3 separate regions of the Homo sapiens genome follow, and regions 1 and 3 are each linked to region 2. Evidence: promoter capture Hi-C in human tissues and cell types (Jung and others, 2019). All regions are on one chromosome and are shown on one strand. The core of a region is centred on a gene start or on the middle of the fragment in contact, and the rest is flanking DNA. Distances in the headings are between cores, read along the strand shown.

Region 1 (4,148 bases), core at 1,034-3,533, 1.1 Mb after region 2:
CAGAAACCAAAGTTAACGGAGCCGAGACCATAGATGAGGAGGCTGCAGGAGATGAAACCATGGAAGCCAGGACTATGGAAGCTGAGGCCACGGGAGCCGAGGCCACGGGAGCTGAGGCCACAGGAGCCAAGGTCACAGAAACAAAACCCACAGGGGCTGAGGTCAGAGAAATGGAGACCACAGAAGAAGAAGCAAACATGGAAACTAAGCCCACAGGAGCTCAGGCCACAGACACAGAGACCACGGGAGTGGAGGCCATGGGGGTGGAGGCCACAAAAACAAAAGCAGAGGAAGCAGAAATGCAGGCCTACGGAGTGGGTGCTGGGCAAGCAGAGCCCCCAGTCACAGGGACCACAAACATGGAGGCCACGGGCTCTAGGGCCACAGGGATGGAATCCACAGGAGTCAGTGCCACAGGTGTGGAGAACCCAGGGGTAGAGGCCACGGTCCCGGGGATCTCTGCTGGCCCCATCCTACATCCTGGTGCCGCAGAGGCCTCGGAAAAGCTTCAAGTAGAGCTGGAGACCAGGATCCGTGGCTTGGAGGAGGCTCTCCGGCAGCGGGAGCGGGAGGCAGCTGCGGAGCTGGAGGCGGCCCTGGGGAAGTGCGAGGCCGCGGAGGCCGAGGCAGGCCGGCTGCGAGAGCGTGTCCGCGAGGCCGAGGGCAGCGGGGCCAGCGGGGGCGGTGGCGGTGACACCACACAGCTGCGGGCGGCCCTGGAGCAGGCCCGGGAGGACCTCCGAGACCGGGACTCCCGCCTGCGGGAGCTGGAGGCGGCCTCGGCCTGCCTGGATGAGGCTCGGGCCAGCCGGCTGCTGGCGGAGGAGGAGGCGCGGGGCCTGCGGGCCGAGCTGGCCCAGCGGGAGGAGGCGCGGCTGGAGCAGAGCCGGGAGCTGGAGGTTCTGCGGGAGCAGCTGGCCACGGCCAGGGCCACGGGGGAGCAGCAGCGCACGGCGGCCGCGGAACTGGGCCGGGCACGGGACGCCGCTGAGGCCCGAGTGGCTGAGCTGCCTGCGGCCTGCGAGGAGGCGCGGCAGGGCCTGGCCGAGCTGCGGGAGGCCTCCGAGGCCCTCCGCCAGTCCGTGGTGCCGGCCTCTGAGCACCGCCGGCTGCAGGAGGAGGCCCTGGAGCTGCGGGGCCGGGCAGCCAGTCTGGAGCAGGAGGTGGTGGCCACGGGCAAGGAGGCCGCCCGGCTGCGCGCGGAGCTGGAGCGGGAGCGTGTGTGCAGCGTGGCGCTCTCGGAGCACGAACGCATCGTGGGCACCCTGCAGGCCAACGTGGCCCAGCTGGAGGGGCAGCTGGAGGAGCTGGGACGGCGGCATGAGAAGACCAGCGCAGAGGTCTTCCAGGTGAGCAGGGCTGGTCACCACCCGGGCCCCACCCCCATTGGCCACGTGGCGGCCTGTTTTAGCCCCGCAGCCTTGAGGTGTTTTGAACCCATCAGTTTTACTTGAACAGACCTACTTTATTTTATTTATTTATTTATTTATTTATTTATTTTTGAGATGGAGTTTCACTCGTGTCGCCCAGGCTGGAGTGTAGTGGTGTGATCTCAGCTCACTGCAACCTCCTCTTTCCCGGTTCAAGTGATTCTCCTGCCTCAGCCTCCGGAGTAGCTGGAATTACAGGCACCTGCCCCCACGCCCAGCTAACTTTTGTATTTTTAGTAGAGATGGGAGTTCACCGTGTTGGCCAGGCTGGTCTTGAACTCCTGACCTCAGGTGATCCACCCACCTCAGCCTCTCAAAGTGCTGGGATTATGGGCATCAGCCTCCGCACCTGGCCTTGAACAGACATTTGACCCTGCAGCCATCCTGACCTCTTGGAATTTTCCACTTGTGTTTTCTCTCTTTCTTTCTCTTTATTTCTCCTTCCTTCCTCTCTCTTTCCTTTCTTTCTTCATCCCCCTTCCCTCCCCCCTTCCCCTTCCCTTCCTTTCTTTTTTTTTTTTTTTCAGACAGGGTGTGGCTCTGTCTGAAAAGTCACCCAGTCACCCAGGCTGGAGTGCAGTGGCACAATCATAGCTCACTGCAACCTCCACCTCCTGGGCTCAAGTAATCCTCCCACCTCAGCCTCCCAAGTAGCTGGTACCACAGGTGTGCACCACCATGCTCGTCTAACTTTTTAATTTTTTGTAAAGACAGGGTTTTGCCATGTTGCCCACGCTGGTCTCAAACACCTGAGCTCATGGCCGGGCACCGTGGCTCACGCCTGTAATCCCAGCACTTTGGGAGGCCAAGGTGAGTGGATCACCTGAGGTCACAAGTTCGAGACCAGCCTGGACAACATCGTGAAACCCCGTCTCTACTAAAAATACAAAAATTAGGTTGGCATTGTGGCACGTGCCTGTAATCCCAGCTACTGGGGAGGCTGAGGCAGGAGAATCGCTTGAACCCGGGAAGTGGAGGTTGCAGTGAGCTGAGATTACACCACTGCACTCCAGCCTAGGCGACAGAGCAAGACTCTGTCTCAAAAAAAAACAAAAACAAAACAAAAACAAGCAAATAGTAGCCAGGCATGGTGGCACCTGTGGTCCCAGCTACTTGGAAGGCCGAGGTGGGAGGATCACTTAAGCCTGAAAGATTGAGGCTACAGTGAGCCATGATCGCACCACCGCACTCCAGCCAGGAGTGCAGGTCCGGAGCAACAGAGCAAGACCCTGTCTTAAAAAAAATCCAAAAACAAAAGAACAAAGTAGAAGGATCATATGAATTCTGGGGTCTAGCATCATTGGAGTCTTAGTGTCCTGAGAGTCATGCGTGGGCTTGGGCCACAGGTGCAGCGTGAGGCCCTGTTCATGAAGAGTGAGCGACACGCAGCCGAGGCACAGCTGGCCACAGCAGAGCAGCAGCTACGGGGGCTACGGACCGAGGCGGAAAGGGCTCGCCAGGCCCAGAGCCGGGCCCAGGAGGCTCTGGACAAGGCCAAGGAGAAGGACAAGAAGGTGGGTGCCCCCTCTCCCACACTCAGTCAGGGAGGCATCCACTCAGCAAAGGTTGGGGCCAATCTACGAAGGTCCTCACTGCAAGGGCCTTGGAAAATCAACCCATTTTCCAGAAGGGAAACTGAGGCTCAGAAACGGAAGGGGACCTGGTTACAGCCTCTGACAAGTCAGACACACACAGGCTGCTGTTCCAGGTACCAATTATAACCACAGTTACATTTATTTTATTTTTTTACTTGAGACGGAGTCTCGCTCTGTCGCCCAGGCTGGAGTGCAGTGGCATGATCTCGGCTCACTGCAACCTCTGGGTTCAAGCAATTCTCGTGCCTCAGCCTCCCGAGCAGCTGGGATTACAGGCATGCGACACCACACCCAGCTAATTTTTTATATTTTTAGTAGAGATGGGGTTTCGTCACGTTGGCCAGGCTGGTCTCGAACTCCTGAGCTCAAGTGATCCGCCTGCCTCAGCCCCCAAAAGGGCTGGGGTTACAGGCGTGAGCCACTGCGTCTGTCTCCACAGTTACATTTATTGAGTGCTTACTGCATGCCAGGCCCTGTGGACTGGATGCATTTAGTCACATCCAGTTCTCACAGGATAGGGGCTTTTATTATCCCCATTTGAGGAAACAGAAGCACAGAGAGGTGAAGTCACTTGCCTAAGGTCACACAGCCATGCAGTCTTTCAGCTGGGTTTGTACCCACGTTCCCACGTTTCGTTCCTAAACAATACTAATGATGATAACAACAGCCTCCAGGTGTTAGATTGGGAATTTTTCACACATTACCTTTTTTTATTGTTGTTTTGTTTTTTTCTGAGGCAGAGTCTTGCTCTGTCACCCAGACTGGAGTGCAGTGGCGTGATCTTGGCTCACTGTAAACTCTGCCTCCCGGGTTCACGCCATTCTCCTGCCTCAGCCTCCCGAGTAGCTGGGACTACAGGCGCCTGCCACCACGCCCGGCTAATTTTTTTGTATTTTTAGCAGAGATGGGGTTTCACCATGTTAGCTGGGATGGTCTCAATCTCCTGACCTCGTGATCCGCCTGCCTCGGCCTCCCAGAGTGCTGGGATTACAGGCGTGAGTCACCGCGACCGGCCTCACACATTACCATTTTTAATCTTCCTGCAACGCTAAAAGCCAGAAAGCTTTTTTTTTTTTTGGCAGAGTCTCACTTTGTCACCCAGGCTGGAGTGCAGTGGTGCAAT
Region 2 (4,075 bases), core at 876-3,375:
TCAGGTCAGGGCGGCCTCATGGCACTCATTGGGAAGATCTCCTTGACCAGTGAGGTCCACTCCCAAAGTCCCTCTTACACCCGATCTGCCTGTCTGACTTCTGATCCTGAATATCACTTGTCTGTGCGACCTTTGTTGATCCATTTAGAGCAATGACCTTGAACCTTCCCCAACAACATCTCTGCTTAATTTTTCTGGCAGAATTTTTCACCATCCAACGGGCTCAGGTGTATTAAAAAATATATATATTTTACACGTGTGTGTATATATATACACACATATATATTTTTATGTATAATATACATATATGTATATTAAAATGTATACTTTTATGTGTGTATATATGTATGTGTATATATGTATGTGTGTCTATATATTGTGTATATATATGTATGTGTATATATGTATGTGTATATACATATATGTATGTGTGTCTATATATTGTGTATATATATGTATGTGTATATATATGTATGTGTGTGTGTGTATATATATACATAGAGAGAGAGGGAGAGTTTTGTTTTGTTTGTTTCTGGAGACAGGGTTTCACTATGTTGCCCAGGCTGGAGAGCAGTGTTATGATCTCGGCTCACTGCAGCCTCCATCTTCGGGGTTCAAGTGATTCCCTTGCCTCAGCCTCCCAAGTAGCTGGGACTACTGGTGCGTGCCAACATGCCCAACTAATTTTTGTATTAGTAGAGATGGAGTTTCTCCATGTTGGCCAGGCTGGTCTCAAACTCCTGACTTCAAGTGATCCTCCTGCCTCGGCCTCCCAAAGTACTTTGATTACAGATGTGAGCTCCCGCACTCACCTGGCCAAATTTTTTATTCTTTTATTTTTTATTTTTTTTGAGATGGAGTCTCACTTCGTCGCCAGGCTGGAGTGCAGTGGCACGATCTCAGCTCACTGCCACCTCTGCCTCCCGGGTTCAAGCGATTCTCTTGCCTCAGCCTCCCAAGTAGGTGGGACTACAGGCGTGCACCACCACGCCCGGCTAATTTTTGTATTTTTAGTAGAGACGGGGTTTCGCCGTGTTGGCCAGGCTGGTCTCGATTTCTTGACTTTGTGATCTGCCCGCCTTGGCCTCCCAAAGTATAGGGATTACATGCGTGAGCCACCAGGCCCAGCCTAAAATTTATTTTATTATCTGTTCTTTAACTAGAACCTTAGGTAAGGAGGTCTGGGATCTGTGTCTCTTGGCTACCGTGCCTGGCACACAGTTGGCGCTCCATGAATGCACGCACAATGAAGGGATGGCCCTGCCTGGAATCTGCCTGGTAGGCGTCTAGACTCTGGGGCCCCGCAGGTGAGGGATAGGCTCCCGGCTCTGCCTTGTGCCAGCCCCACCGGTCACTCCCCTGCTCTATGCCTCAACCTCCTCATCAGTCAAACAGGGATGACAGTAGTAACTATACAGGGTGATGTGAGTGTAAAACCAGCTAATGTGAGCCAAAACCCGGCTAATTTTTGTATCTTTAGTAGAGACAGGGTTTCGCCATGTTGGCCAGGCTGGTTTCGAACTCCTGACCTCAGGCAAGCTGCCCACCTCTGCAGGGTGGATCACCTGAGGTCAGGGCAGAGTCGCTGGAAACAGTCCATGACACCTGGCCTGAGCTGTTTCTTAAAAATATATCAGAAGGGCCGAGCGTGGTGGTTTATGCCTGCAATCCCAGCACTTTGGGAGGCCGAGGCGGGTGGATCACCTGAGGTCAGGAGTTTGAGACCAGCCTGGCCAACGTGGTGGAACCCTTTCTCTACTAAAAATCCAAAGTTAGCCCGGCGTGGTGGTGGATGCCTGTAATCCCAGCTACTCGAGAGGCTGAGGCAGGAGAATTGCTTGAACCTGGGAGGCAGATGTTGCAGAGTCAAGATCCTGCCACTGCACTCCAGCCTGGGCAATAAGAGTGAAACTCTGTCTCAAAAAAAAAAAAAAAAATATATATATATATATATATATATATATATATATATATATATATATATACACATATATATATATACACACACATATATATATGATATATATATAATGTATCAGCAGTAGCACGGGTCTGACGGTTCCTGATTGGCTCCGAGGAGGGGGACAGCTCCGGGTGAAGCCTGAGGAGAATCCGCCCCTTCTCCAGAAGGAGGAAGAAGGGCCCTGCTGGTCACACAGGACCCAGTCTGCGGTGGGGGTTTTCCCGCCACCGCCCCGCCCTCCCTGGGGCCCCCACCTCACCCTCTCCTGGCACCCTTCACCGTCAACCTGTCGGGCCGGGTCTGAGCAGGTCTGGAGGTGGGCGGGGAGCCCTGGCCTCCCCACCTCCTCCCGTCCCCACCCTGTTCCCAGCACTCAAGCCTTGCCACCGCCGAGCCGGGCTTCCTGGGTGTTTCAGGCAAGGAAGTCTAGGTCCCTGGGGGGTGACCCCCAAGGAAAAGGCAGCCTCCCTGCGCACCCGGTTGCCCGGAGCCCTCTCCAGGGCCGGCTGGGCTGGGGGTTGCCCTGGCCAGCAGGGGCCCGGGGGCGATGCCACCCGGTGCCGACTGAGGCCACCGCACCATGGCCCGCTCGCTGACCTGGCGCTGCTGCCCCTGGTGCCTGACGGAGGATGAGAAGGCCGCCGCCCGGGTGGACCAGGAGATCAACAGGATCCTCTTGGAGCAGAAGAAGCAGGACCGCGGGGAGCTGAAGCTGCTGCTTTTGGGTGAGTCCAGGGTCGGTGGGCGGTGGGTGGTGGGCAGTGGGCGGTGGCCAGCCGGCAGGGGTGTCGGGGCAAGGAGGCGGATCAGGCTAGGTCAGACATTGGCATCGTGGAGCCGTCGCCTCCTCCCAGGGAATGGGGAGCCTGGAACCCATTTTCCAGATGAGAAAGACTGAGGTTCAGAGAAGCCAAGTTCCTTGTCCAACGTGCGACCAGCGGCCAGGTGCCCAGGCCTGTCCACTGTGTGGGGCATATACAATAGCAGACGTGGCTCTACCGGGCCCCTGCCGGGCAGGCCCAGCACGCCCTACCTGTCTGTGTCATGGCGAGGGAATGATGAGCTCAGGTGTGCAACCCGTTCTGGCCAGCCCACCCGTAAGGGAGGGGCCGGCTCCAGCCTCTCCTTCACCAGGACGCTCCCTCTCGCCTTTACCTCCCTGCCATGGCTGGAGAGGGCTTGTCTAGGGCTCCTTTGGGGGCTAGAAAGGATGGATTGATTGGTTCATTGGTTCATTCATTCATTATTCATTCATTTAAGATTTATTGGGTAGCTCCCAGGAACGAGGCAGCCAAACAGGGGAAGATATTTCTGTCTTCCTGGATCTCATTTCCTGTGAAGGAGCCAAGACATTTAGTCTGTAAACTCATAAGCAGATAAAATAATTCTGGCAACAAGAATTATCTAGGAGAAAACAAAACAGGGTGATGGCTTCCATGCGGAGGCTTCAGATGGGGGAGTCGACGTCAGTAACGGTTCAAGATTCTGAACTCTGGCTGGGTGCAGTGGCTCAAGCCTGTGATTTCAGCACTTTGGGAGGCCCAGGCGGGTGGGATCACTTGAGGTCAGGAGTTCAAGACACAGCCAGGCCAACATGGTGAAGCCCCGTCTCTACTAAAATACCAAAAATTTGCCAGGCATGGTGGCTCATGCCTGTAATCCCAGCACTTTGGGAGGCCGAGGTGGGTGGATCACAAGGTCGGGAGATCGAGACCAGCCTGACCAACACGGTGAAACCCCATCTCTACCAAAATACCAAAAATTAGCCAGATGTGGTGGTGCGTGCCTGTAGTCCCTGCTACTCGGGAGGCTGAGGCAGGGGAATTGCATGAAACCAGGAGGTGGAGACTGCAGTGAGCTGAGATCATGCCACTGCACTCCAGACTGGCGACAGAGTGAGACGCCATCTCAAACAAATAAACAAACAAACAAAACCAAAAATTAGCTGGGCATGGTGGCACACAGCTATAATCCCAGCTACTCGGGAGGCTGAGGCATGAGAATCGCTTGAACCCAGGAGGCAGAGGTTGCAGTGAGCTGAGATCGGGCCACTGCACTCCAGCCTGGATGACAGAGCAAGACTCATTGTCAATAAATAAATAAATATAAATA
Region 3 (3,765 bases), core at 1,213-3,712, 1.0 Mb after region 2:
CCAACATGGTGAAACCCCATCTCCACCAAAAATACAAAAATTAGCTGGGTGTGGTGGTGGGAGCCTGTAATGCCAGCTACTCAGGAGGCTGAGGCAGGAGAATCGCCTGAACCTGGGAAGTGGAGGTTGCAGTGAGCTGAGATTGTGCTACTGCACTCCAGCCTGGGCGACAGAGCGAGACTCTGTCTTGAGAAAGAAAGAAAGAAAGAGAGAAAGAAAGATAGAGAGAGAAAAGAGAAAAAAAGAGAGAGGAAAGAAGGAAGGAAGGAGGGAGGGAGGGAGGGAGAGAAGGAAGGAAGGAAGGAAGGAAAGGAAGGAAGGAAGGGGAAGGGAACCAGGATGTGAATTTTTTTAGAGCAAGGAGGGCACATAAATTACCCCTCTCAACCTAGCACATGGCACAGTGTCCAGCAAACAGAAAGCTTGATTTAGTCTCCTATTTGCTAAACTTCCAACAGTGCCCTGCTGTTTAGCACAAACCAAACTCCTTGCCACAACACACAGGGCTTTGCACGACCTGCCCCGTCCCCTCCCTGCCTTCCCCTCCTCCCTGCCTTCCCCTCCTCCCTGTCTTCCTCTCCTGCCTGTCTTCCTCTCCTCACTCTGCTCCAGCCACAGGGGTCTCATTGCTGTTCCTCCAATGCGCTAGGCACGGACCTGCCTCAGGGCCTTTGCACAAACTGTGCCTCTGCCTGGGACACCTTTCCCCAGACCTTCCCAGGGCCAGTTCCATCTCATCCTTCAGGACTGCACTGAACATGTCATTTTTTTTTTTTTTGAGACAGAGTCTCACTGTCGCCCAGGTTGGAGTGCAGTGGTGTGATCTCAGCTCACTGCAACCTCCGCCTCCTGGGTTCAAGTGATTCTCCTGCTTCGGCCTCCCGAGTACTGGTATTGCAGGCATGTGCTACCACACCCATCTAATTTTTATATTTTTAGTACAGATGGGGTTTCACCATGTTGGCCAGGTTGGTCTCAAACTCTTGACCTCAGGTGATCCACCCACCTCGGCCTCCCAAAGTGCTGGCATTACAGATGTGAGCCACCACGCTTGGTCTAATATGTCATCTGCTAAAGGGGGACTTTGCCTGGGCACAGTGGCTCATGCCTGTAAATCCAGCACTTTGGGAGGCTGAAGCAGGTGGATCATTTGAGCCCAGGAGTTTGAGACCATACTGGCCAACACAGTAAGACCCCATCTCTATAAAAAAAAAAAAACAAAATTAGCCAGGTGTGGTGGTGCACGCCTGCAGTCCTAGCTACTTGGGAGGCTGAGACGGGAGGATCACTTGAACCCAGGAGTTGGAGGCTGCAGTGAGCTATGATCCTGCCACTGCACTCCAGCCTGGGCAATAGAGTGAGACCCTGTCCTCCACCAACACCAAAAAAAAAAACAAAAAAACAAAACAGGGCTCCTCTCTCTTGGTAGGGGGTGGAGGGGAGGTCAGAGACACCTCTCAGCCACCCGGGCTGATTCACAAATATCGAACATTCACTAAAATGTCAATACAGTGACCTAGAGCCAGAGGGGAAGAGGGAGGGTACAAGAGGAGAGTTCCAGGCAGAGGGGCGAGCAGGTGAGTAGGTGCAAAGGCCCTAAGCAGGAACCAGTTTGGCTCCATAAATATTTGTTGACTCAATGAACGATAGAAGATTCTAGAGAGAATTGATTGCACAGAATCACCCATGGGGACTCAGAGGCGGAGTCCAAGCTGGTTTCGGAGGGGGCTGGGGGCCGGAGGTTGGCAGGTGGGGTGAAGGATGGGAGCCGCTAGCTGCTGGCAGGAAAACTGGCTTCAGTGAAGATCTGGTCTGGTCCTCTTGGTTTGTTTCTGTCCAGGGAGTGGACAGGACCCATGTAAGGGCCCTGGGCTATCCCAGAACCCATCTGGGAATTCTGAAGAGAAAAAGTCCTGTAACTGGCCGGGTGCGGTGGCTCACGCCTGTAATCCCCGCACTTTGGGAGACTGAGGGGCCGATCACGAGGTCAGGAGTTCGAGACCAGCCTGGAAAACATGATGAAACCTCGTCTCTACTAAAAATACAAAAGTTAGCCGGGCATGGTGATGGGGACCTGTAGTCCCAGCTACTCGGGAGGCTGAGGCAGGAGAATCACTTGAACCCAAGAGGCAGAGGTTGCAGTGAGCCGAAATGAGATGGCACCACTGCACTCCAGCTTGGGCCACAGAGCGAGACTCCGTCTCAAAAAAGAAAGAAAAAAAGAAAAAGTCCTCATAAGTAGGGCAGAGGTCACGGCAGAGTGGAGGTACCCCAGACTTCGACCTTTGCTCACTGAGGGCTGGAAAACCACAAAACACCCAGATAACGGTCTTCCCTCCCCTGCTCCTGCCTGCCCCAGTGTCACTGGCCCTCAACCCTGTCTCTCCACCCTGTCCACCAATCAGCACCTGGAGGTGGGCTGGGAGCTGCCTGTGACCGCTTCAGCATCTTTTGGGAGTGGTGACAGAGCCACAGAGGGCTGTGAGCTTGCCCGGCCCCAGGTAACGCTGGCGGTGGGTGGGCCTCCAGCTTGGAGCAGAGACCCCCCGAGGCATCTGCAGACAGAACTGGATGGACCCATGAATACGGATTTAGCTGCTGGAAAGGTGAGCCCTACTAGGTCCCCAGGGAGAGCGGGAGTCTAGGCTGGGAAAGCCTACCCAAGCTGCCAGAGCTGGAAGGACCCCATCTCCACCCCTATTGTACAGATGGGAAGACTGAGGCCCAGAGAAAGGATGCAATGAGCAAAACTGTGTGCCTTTGCCCCGGGGCTGCCCTTGTCTTTCTTCCAGGTCCCCCTGCCTCCTAGGAGCGGGCACTTGGGGAGGCTGTGAAGGCCTGAGAGGCAAGCGGCATCTCTAGCTAGGGCCTCTCTCCAGCACTTTTTATTTTATTTTATTTTATTTTTATTTTTATTTTTTGAGATGGAGTCTCCCTCTGTCACCCAGGCTAGAGTGCAATGGCACGATCTCAGCTCACTGCAACTTCCACCTCCTGGGTTCAAGAGATCTTCCTGCCTCAGCCTCCCAAGTAGTTGGGATTACAGGTGTGCACCACCACGCCCGGCTAATTTTTGTACTTTTCCTAGAGACAGGGTTTCACCATGTTGGCTAGGCTGGTCTCAAACTCCTGACTTCAGGTGAGCTGCCCGCCTCGGCTTCCCAGAGTGCTGGGATTACAGATGTGAGCCACCGTGCCTGCCATACTTTTTTGTTTTTTGAAACAAGGTCTTGCTCTGTGACCCAGGGTGGAGTGCAGTGGGGTGGCCATAGCTCACTGCAGCCTCAACCTCCTGGGTTCAAGGGATCCTCCTACCTCAGCCTCCCCAGTAGCTGGGACGACAAGTGTGTGCCACCGCAGCCAGCTAATTTTTTTAAATTATTTGCAGTAGGGATAGGGGTCTCTATGTTGCGCAGGCTGGTCTTGAACTCCTGGGCTCAAGTGATCCTCCTGCCCCGGCCTCCCAAAGTGCTGAGATTACAGGCATGAGCCACCACATCCAGCCTCTCCAGCACTTTAAGAGAAATTGGCTCTCACACTGTGGAATTCTCTCTATCAGCCTCAAAGTCCAGATTTGGAAAGGGAGTCTCAGCGAGGGGCAGCAGCTGGCCCAACCCGGAGGCAGAGCGGCAACTGAACTCTAGCCGGAAAGAGCCAGGGTTATGTGCACATGGGAGGTGGGGAGGACAGGGGCTGTATGTGACCCTCACATCTGTTCCTCGCGCCCCAGATGGCTTCTGCTGCCTGCTCCATGGACCCCATCGA

Evidence for each region. Contacts are between HindIII fragments. The study calls those that stand out against the background at their distance.
Region 1: a fragment that was not itself captured here is called in contact with the fragment with the promoter of GNA15 in region 2 in 1 of the 25 tissues and cell types used here (pancreas).
Region 3: a contact is called between the fragment with the promoter of CREB3L3 here and the fragment with the promoter of GNA15 in region 2, in 1 of the 25 tissues and cell types used here (lymphoblastoid cells).

What each region holds. Positions count from the first base shown.
Region 1 is chr19:4,216,815-4,220,962 of GRCh38, forward strand. It overlaps ANKRD24 (ankyrin repeat domain 24), which reads left to right. Exons shown (of 22, transcript NM_001393985.1): 18 at 1-1,349; 19 at 2,777-2,944. Among named protein-coding and RNA genes, the nearest start is that of EBI3, 11 kb to the right of the region's middle. The HindIII fragment of the contact is 4,281 bases long and covers 144-4,148 here.
Region 2 is chr19:3,133,908-3,137,982 of GRCh38, forward strand. It overlaps GNA15 (G protein subunit alpha 15), which reads left to right and starts at 2,126. Exons shown (of 7, transcript NM_002068.4): 1 at 2,126-2,688. The coding sequence starts at 2,544. The HindIII fragment of the contact is 27,733 bases long and covers 1-4,075 here.
Region 3 is chr19:4,151,169-4,154,933 of GRCh38, forward strand. CREB3L3 (cAMP responsive element binding protein 3 like 3) reads left to right here and starts at 2,463. Exons shown (of 10, transcript NM_032607.3): 1 at 2,463-2,606; 2 at 3,731-3,765. The coding sequence starts at 2,580. The HindIII fragment of the contact is 37,156 bases long and covers 1-3,765 here.